Regions from separate parts of the Homo sapiens genome. Here regions 2 and 3 are each linked to region 1. Evidence: promoter capture Hi-C in human tissues and cell types (Jung and others, 2019). All regions are on one chromosome and are shown on one strand. The core of a region is centred on a gene start or on the middle of the fragment in contact, and the rest is flanking DNA. Distances in the headings are between cores, read along the strand shown.

Evidence for each region. The method cuts DNA at HindIII sites, captures the fragments that hold promoters and counts their contacts. A contact is called where the count stands out against the background at its distance.
Region 2: the fragment with the promoter of ZNF626 here is called in contact with the fragment with the promoter of ZNF708 in region 1 in 1 of the 25 tissues and cell types used here (mesendoderm cells).
Region 3: a contact is called between a fragment that was not itself captured here and the fragment with the promoter of ZNF708 in region 1, in 2 of the 25 tissues and cell types used here (aorta and dorsolateral prefrontal cortex).

The regions. Positions count from the first base shown.
Region 1 is chr19:21,328,096-21,330,822 of GRCh38, forward strand. It overlaps ZNF708 (zinc finger protein 708), which reads right to left and starts at 1,315. Exons shown (of 4, transcript NM_021269.3): 1 at 1,115-1,315. The coding sequence starts at 1,117. RefSeq lists enhancers at 868-1,067, 1,108-1,287, 1,172-2,160 and a silencer at 1,407-1,628. The HindIII fragment of the contact is 12,621 bases long and covers 1-2,727 here.
Region 2 is chr19:20,660,206-20,663,167 of GRCh38, forward strand. It overlaps ZNF626 (zinc finger protein 626), which reads right to left and starts at 1,366. Exons shown (of 4, transcript NM_001076675.3): 1 at 1,239-1,366. The coding sequence starts at 1,241. RefSeq lists a silencer at 1,491-1,560. The HindIII fragment of the contact is 1,409 bases long and covers 363-1,771 here.
Region 3 is chr19:20,558,269-20,561,360 of GRCh38, forward strand. The region is part of intron 1 of ZNF737 (zinc finger protein 737); the gene reads right to left. All of the region lies in intron 2 of LOC105372316 (a long non-coding RNA gene), which reads left to right. Among named protein-coding and RNA genes, the nearest start is that of ZNF737, 6.0 kb to the right of the region's middle. The HindIII fragment of the contact is 6,645 bases long and covers 1-3,092 here.

The sequences.
Region 1 (2,727 bases), core at 65-2,564:
GCTGAAGACACATCACTCCGTAAAGTTTCCAAAGAAAAACCTTCACCTGAAAACAAACATTCTGATAAGATTTCTGTGCCTGAGGAAGATAAAAAAAAAAAAGCCATAGAAATTTCATAAAATACAGTGTCAGGGAATTATTTTTTGCTTTCTTCTCATGAGAAATATTTTCAACCAGAAAACAATTTTAAGTGCCATCCAATGCTTTGTCAAAAAATGATTAACTAAAATACAGTATCAAAAATGTACACTAAAGGAAAAACAGTTGAGAATGTGAATTAGGAAAGGCAAGCTGGCATTTGGAAATGTCAGAAGGAACTAGAAATTTAGTATTTTAGTTTATTTGCAGTTTAAATCTAACTGCAGGCCAGAGTTAGGCTGGAGGAATGGGGCTGGGAGGTACACTTGAGACCCCGCTTGGAACGCATGTGAAAAATGCAGGGGAAAATCAGTCCCCTGTGGAGTGTGAGAATAATTAAGTGGCAGGCAATTACACTGAGGAGGCTCTAGTCCCCGGCTTTCTACTTAACAGCAACAGCTACGTAAATGTACCTAACCGATTATTAAATATAGTTTTCTTCATCATGCACCTTATAAAAAGTCTTTCCTTCAAGCTCCTCCCATGAACCACAAACTACAAAACATACTTTTGTGCTCTACAATTATTGAATCACTCTTTGATTAAATTCTTTAATATTTTTTGCGATGACTGCCACAGATTTTTAATAGGAGAAAATAGGAACCGGGAACCCCACAGACCAAAGCTCTTCCCATTCATGAACCCGACCCCAAGTCAGGATTCTCCCCTGACCACCCTCCCATGGTCCCTGCACAATCTGGGAGAGGCGCGGCGCTGCCGGTGCAGAGCCGCCCAGAGAGGGCTGCAGGCCAGGGCACAGTCACTGCGCAGGGAAGAGACAGGACGCCCGGGGGCCCGGCTGTCGGCGCAGCCGCCATCTTATGGCTGAAGGGGACTGAGGCCGAGCTAGGCAAGGAGAACTCGGAGCGCAGATTGTGGAGATGACTGCGGGGAGTCCTGAGTCCCGCCACAGCCACTTCCCACAGGTTTCAACCAGCCCTTCCCCTCTCTCGGGATGTCGGACGGCACTCTCACCATTTCTAGGCTTCCAGAGGGTCCTGGAGTCTTAGCTGTGGATCTCCCAATACCTGCAGGTCACAGAGCCACAGAGTCTGGGCCTCTAGGAGCAGAGGACAAACAGCAGTGAAGACGAGACCGGAGCTCCGGCTGCAGCAAGAGACAAAGGCCGCGCCAAACCCGGAAGCCGCCCTGTCCGGTCCAGCTGCGTGTCTGAGTGAACTGTCCCCAGCTCAGAGTCCCTGATTGGATAATGTTAAAACCCGCCCCTTCAGGCCCTGAGGGACGGAAGATGTGATCAGATGCTGGGCTGAATGAAGTGTGACAGCCTATGCTGCAGCCTTTTCAGGCAAGGCTTCCTCCCTGAGCTGAGCCAGGCCCACCCGAGAGGGTGTTTGCCTTTAATCTTGTGTATAAGGTCATATGCCCTTATAAATAATATGCTATATGGCTATTCACAAATGAAAAGAATATAATAACCCAATTGTTCTAAAAAAAATTTTTTTTTTGAGATTGAGTTTCACTCTTGTTGCCCAGGCTGGAGTGCAATGGCGCGATCTTGGCTCATCGCAACCTCCACCTCGCGGGTTCAAGCGATTCTCCTGCCTCAGCCTCCCGCGTAGCTGAGATTACAGGCATGCGCCACCATGCCCGGCTAATTTTTTTGTATTTTTAGTAGAGACGGGGTTTCTCCATGTTGGTCAGGCTGGTCTCAAACTCCAGACCTCAGGTGATCCTCCCGCCTCGGCCTCCCAAAATGCTGGGATTACAGGCATGAGCCACTGCGCCCGGCCCAACTGTTCTAAAATTTTATATTTTGTGACCTTCCTGACTTCTGGTCCTTTGAGCAGGCAGCCTGAGATTTTAAAAAGGAGGCAATTCTCTGAAATAAAATGTGAGCCACAAGTTGGGCGCTGTACCTCACGCCTGTAATCCCAGTACTTCGGGAGGCCGAAGAGGGTGGATCATCTGAGGTTCAGAGTTCGAGATCAGTCTGGCCAACATGGTGAAACCCCGTCTCTAAAACAATACAAAAAAATTAGCTGGGCATGGTGGCAGGCGCCTGTAATCCCAGCTACTTGGGAGGCTGGGGCAGGAGAATCGCTTGATCCTGGGCGGTGGAGGTTGCAGTGAGACGAGATCACGCCACTGCACTCCAGTATGGACAACAAGAGTGAAACTCTGTCTCAAAAAAAATAAATAAATAAAATAAAATCATAAAATGTGAGCCACATGTAAATTTTAAATTTTCTAGTAGCCAAACTTTATTTTATATTTTTATTTTTTTAGACGGAGTCTCACATTGTTGCCTGGGCTGGAGTGCAATGGCGCGATTTCTGCTCACTGCAACCTCTGCCTCCCGGGTTCAAGCGATTCTCCTGCCTCAGCCTCCCAAGTAGCTGAGATAAAAGGCGCTGGCCACCATGCCCGGCTAATTTGTAGCCAAACTTTAAAAAGAGTTTAGCTCTATTTTTAAAAAGAAACAAAGAACAGGTGAAATTGATTGTAACAATTTAACCCAATATATCGAAAATATTGTCATTTTAATATGTGAGAAATATGTAATTATTAATGAAGTGTGTCTATATATATGGAACTAAACCTTTGAAACTAACTCGTATTTTACCTTT
Region 2 (2,962 bases), core at 116-2,615, 670 kb before region 1:
TACATTCCAGCCTGGGCACCACAAGCGACACTGTGTCTAAAAAAAAAAAAAAAAAAAAAAAAATACCCTGTTGCAGGCTTAATATTAGCCTTAGCTTGGAGTCACTAGGTTCAAGCTTTAATGTCCACATCAGTTATTCACTTGGTTTTTGAAACTAAGTGTTAGAAACTCCAGTGAAATTACTCACAATGTTTACATAAAGGAATTTTTAAGATGCTTACTTTTTTTTTCTTTTTTTTGAGCCGGAGTCTCGCTTTGTCACGCAGGCTGGAGCGCGATGATTGGATCTCAGCTCACTGCAACTTCCGCCTCCCGGGTTCAAGCAATTCTCGTGCCTCAGCCTCCCAAGTGGCTGGTACTACAGGCACGTGCCAACACGCCGATAGTTTTCGTATTTTTAGTAGAGACGGGTTTCACCACGTTGGCCAGGCTGGTCTAGAACTCCTGACCACGTGATCCACCTGCCTCGGCCTCCGAAGTGCTGGGATTACAGGCTTGAGCCACCGCGCCCAGCAAGAAAGGGGTTTTGAACCCTAATGCAGTTCCTGTTTTTGTTTCCATCCCCTATTGGCTGGGATCAGACCGCACAATCTAAGCTGATCCTGGTAAGCTTAGACCCAAACTTTTTCCAAATAAAGTAAATGCGCGATTTGCGAGAAAAGGAAAAGGGGGTAGAAGAAGAGGTAGGGTTGATTTACAACTTTTACAACTTATGACCAGAAAGTTGAGTCATTTAAAAGGAACTTAGTTGTCCTAACACCTCTTTACCTCAAGTGATCCGCCCGCCTCGGCCTCCCAAAACGTTGGGATTACAGGCGTGAGCCACAGCGTCCGGCCCCATACATTTTTAATAGGAGAAAAGAGAAACTGTAAACCCAAAGGAACAAAGCTCTTCCCATTCATGAACCCGCACCCCGAGTCAGGATTCTCCCCTGCCCACCCTCCCCTGGTCCCTGCACAATCTGGGAGAGACGCCACGCTGCGGGTGCAGAGCTGCCCAGAGAGGGCTCCAGGCCAGGGTAGTCACCGCGCAGTGAAGAGACAAGACGCCCGGGTGCCGGCTGTCAGCGCAGCTGCCATTTTATGGCTGAACAGGACTGAGGCCGAGCTGAGCAAGGAGAACTGGGGGAGCAGACTGTGGAGCTGACTGCGGGGAGGCCTGAGTCCCGCCACAGCCACTTTTCACCGGTTCCAACCAGTCCCTCTCCTCTCTCGGGATGTCGGACCCTCACTCTCACCATTTTTGGCTTCCAGGAGGTCCCGGTGTCTTAGCTGTGGATCTCCCAATACCTGCAGGACACGGGGCCACACAGCCTGGGCCTTTAGGAGAAGAACCAGACCTGGAGCTCTGACTGCAGCGAGAGACAAAGGCCGCACCAAACCCGGAAACCGTCCTCTTCGCTCCAGCTGCGTTCCTGATTGGATGGTTTCCAGCCCACCATCCCTGATTGGATAATGCTTAAGGCCCCGCCCCCTGAGGCCCTGAGTGACAGTAGATGTGATCAGACGCTGAGCTGAGTGAAGAAAGAGTGACAGCCTAAGCTGCAGCCTTTTCAGGCAGGGCTTCCTTCCTGAGCTGAGCCAGGCCCACCCCAGAGCATGGGAGAATTCTATCTTTTCTTTACTCTCTCTCTTTTTGAATGTATTCAAAAGGTGAACAGAAGTATTTTGCTCTCATATTAATAATACATAAAATTTTTGTTCAAGAGAAAATCAACTTTTACTTTGGCAATAATGTATTATCAATACTAAAGGTAATTTTGATAAAACCTTATAAAAAATCAAATTTGTCATTTTTGACCTCTCGAGATTTACATACATATTTTGTAATCTAATGTAATTTTTTAACTTTTTATATTTTATTTTTATCTACATTCTTTTTATTTTTTCAATTTGAAACAACCTTTAAGTAATTTCAAACTGTTACAAGAGACAAAGAAATCATTTAGGGCCAGTCCGCTGGTGCACGCTTGTAATCCAAGCACTTTGGGAGGCCAAAGTGGGTGGATCACTTCAGGTCAGGAGTTCAAGACCAGCCTGGCCAACATGTTGAATCTCATCTCTAGTAAAAACACAAAAAATTAGCCAGGTGTGGTGGTACACACCTGTAGTCCCAGGTGCTACGGCGGCTGAAGCAGGGGAATCGCTTGAACCCAGGAGGCGGAGGTTGTGTAACGGCCTAAGGGCTTCATCTTGCCTAGACAGAGATGATTCATCAAGACAGGGGAATTTGTGGAGGAAAAGTTAAATATTAAATTTGAACTCAGTTGAACATGGACACAAACAATGGTCACCAAGTCCTGGAACAGGTTATGTGAGCCCCTTGAGGCATTCACCTGCCGACCTTCCCCTGGTCCCTGCACAATCTGGGAGAGACGCCATGCTGCAGGTGCAGAGCTGCCCAAAGTGGGCTCCAGGCCAGGGCACAGTCACAGCGCAGTGAAGAGGCAGGACTTCTGGGGGCCTGGCTGTCAGCGCAGCTGCCATCTTCTGGCTGAATGGGACTGAGGCCAAGCTGGGCAAAGAGAACTGGGCACAGATTGTTTTGGAGAAATCTCTATTTTAATCTATTCCTATACGTTAGTTATTGAAAAACAATAGCCAATCGCAAAAAAAACAAGTTGACTTTTTTGTGTTCCTTGAGCCCAGTTGCAAAGAGCCCAGTTGCAACTGGGCCTCATGCCAAACAACTTGTTACAAAAAGAGCTAGGATCCCAGACTGCACCAAAGCTCCAAAGACCTCTCCTTGTCTGTACAGGGATGGGTGGCCGACTCTGGAGCCCAGGCTGTTGCTTCCTGGTCTGCTGATGAATCCTCCATAGTCTGGTGAGTGTAAAGATATATATTTTTTCTCTTCTCCCCTTCCCATTGCAATGCTCTTATTATATCAATTTGCTTATTATATATGCATTGCCATTTACCTGGGATAAAGCTTGTTTACCCTTAAAGGTATTGTGTGCGT
Region 3 (3,092 bases), core at 244-2,743, 770 kb before region 1:
AGACTCCGTCTCAAAAAAAAAAAAGAACCTATAATAACAATTCTTCTGTTCATAAATATGCCTTCAGATGTAGACATCAGAAGTCTCAAAAATATAAAGAAAGTGGCCTAAATAAAGCCCAAGGTGTTGGACACATCTATGTATTGCACCAACCATATGATGCACAATTCAATTATTTATCCAGTTGCTAGTCTAGACTAAAAGCTTCTGGATTGTAGGAAAAAAGACTGCTGCATAGTTTTTTTTTAATGGCCATATAAAATGGAAGCAACTAGTTTATCCATTTGGGTCTCCAGATCTTTTCCTTCTTTACCATCCAAGTACTAGGAAACTGGAGAAACTCTCATCTGGGTACCAACCAAAGACACCTCTTGTATGAGGGGATGAAAAAACACAGGATGACTCATTTCCCTTACACTGAGACAGAAGCAGAATTAACCACTCTTATCAGCCTAACACAATTCTGCTCTGAACATCCTCAAATGCCTCAAAGACACCCAGGTGATTGTGAGGGAATTTCCAGTGACCCTGGGCTGATGGCCCAATGATAAGCCAGGCTAGAGAGACTCAGGCTGAAGACCAATGCAACAGAATAGAGAGCCCAGAAATAATGCCACCCTCCTATAACCATCAGATTTTTGACAAAGCTGACAAGGGAAATGTGGGAAGAATTCTCTCTTTAATAAATGGTGCTGGAATAACTACCTAGCACTATGTAGAAGACTGAAACTAGCTCACTTCATTACAGCATATACAAAAATCAACTGAAGATAAACACTTAAATGTAAGCTTAAAATTATAAGAAACACTGCATGAAAACCTAGGAAATACCATTCTAGACACAGAAACTGGCAAAGAATTCATGAGGAAGCTACCAAAAGCAACTGCAACAGAAGCAAAAATTGACAAATGGGACCTATTTAAACTAAAGCGCTTCTTCACAGCAAAGGAAACTATCAACAGAGGAAAAAGACAACCTACAGAATAAAAGAAAATTTTTGCAAACTTTGCCTCTGACAAAGGTCTAATATCCAGAATTTATTAGAAACTTAAACAAGTTTAAAAGACAAAACCAAACGACCTCATTAAAAAGTAGGCAAAAAAGATGAACACTGCTTTTCAAAAGAAAATATACATGTGGCTAAGTACCTGAAAAAAATGCTCATCGCTAATCACGGGAGAAATTAAAAGAAAAACCACATGTGGCTAAGAAGTACTTGAAAAAAATGCTCATCACTAATCACTAGAGAAATTAAAAGAAAAACAACAACGAGATATCACTTCACACCAGTCAGAATGGCTATTTTCAAAAAGTCAAAAAATAATAGATGCTGGCAAGGTTGCAGAGAAAACGGAATGCTTATACTCTGCTGGTGGGAGTGTAAATAGTTTAACAACTGTAAAAAGCAGTGTGGCGGTTCCTCACAGAACTAACAACAGAATTATCATTTGACCCAGGGATCTCATAATTGGGTATATACCCAAAGAAACATAAATTATTATATTATAAAGACACATCCACATGCATGTTCACTGCAGCACTATTCACAATAGCAAAGATAAGGACAGGCCCTAAATACCTATCAGTGGTAGACTGGGTAAAGAAAATATGGTATGGTCAGATGCAGTGGTTCACGCCTGTAATCCCAGCACTTTGGGAGGCCGAGGCGGGTGGATCATGAGGTCAGGAGATCGAGACCATCCTGGCTAACAAGGTGAAACCCCGTCTCTACTAAAAATACAAAAAATTAGCCGGGCGCGGTGGCGGGCGCCTGTAGTCCCAGCTACTCGGGAGGCTGAGGCAGGAGAATGGCGTGAACCCGGGAAGCGGAGCTTGCAGTGAGCCGAGATTGCGCCACTGCAGTCCGCAGTCCGGCCTGGGCGACAGAGCGAGACTCCGTCTCAAAAAAAAAAAAAAAAAAAAAAAAATTGGCCAGGTGTGGTAATGCCCGCGTGTAGTCCAAGCTACTTGGGAACATGAGGTAGGAGAAAATTGCTTGAGCCAGGGAGGTTGAGGCTAAAGTAAACCAATATCATGCCATGGCACTCTAGCCTGGGCAATAAGGGAGACTCTGTCTCCAAAAATAAAATGAAATAAAAGATTTAGTCAAAATAAAATATGGTATATAAACCTCATGGAATACTCTGTGGCCATTAAAAAAAAAAATCATGTCCTTTGCAATAACGTCAATGAAGCTGGAGACCATCATTCTTAGAAAACAAATGCAGAGGCCTGGCGCAGTGGCTCATGCCTGTAATCCCACCACTTTGGGAGGCCAATGTAGGTTGATCACTTGAGGTCAGGAGTTCGAGACCAGCCTGCCCAACATGGAGAAAAGCCATCTCTACTAAAAATACAGAATTAGCTGGGTGTGGTGCCATGTGCCTGTAATCCCAGCTACTCAGGAGGCTGAGGCAGGAGAATCACTTGAAACTGGGAGACGGAGGTTGTGGTGAGCCGAGATCACACCATTGCACTCCAGCCTGGGCAACAAAAGTGAAACTCCGTCTCCAAAAAAAAAGAAAGAAAGAAAAAGAAAATACTGTAGAAACAGAAAACCAAATGCATGTTTTTATTTATAAGTAACAGCTAAATAATAAGAACACACAAACACAAAGAGGAGAACAACAGACGCTGCGGCCTAGTTGAGGGTGGAGGGTGGAAGACTAAGAGAATCAGAAAACATACCTGTTTGGTGCTATGCTTAATACCTCAGTGACAAAATAATCTGCACGCAAAACCCCCATGCACCAAAACAAACTCATGTGTACCCCAAAACAAAAATAAAAGCTAAAAGAAAAAATTAAATCCCTGGGTGGGAGAGATTGCAATGTAGGTGAGAGGACTGATTTTTGCTACAGATAGTTGTCCTGGTGCAGCTGTACTCTGATTTATTACTGTGTGCACGCAGACATATGAGATTATGAACAGCTGATTCAAAATGCTAGGTTGGTGGAGAAAACAGATTGCTGCTGCAGATTTAGTGTCTGGGGGTGGGGATACGCCAGGAGACTTGTAGAGACTTGTGGGTTCTTGGCAAGAAACACTAGGATCAAAAACGCCGTGGTGAAGGTCCTGAGGGTGGTGCCTA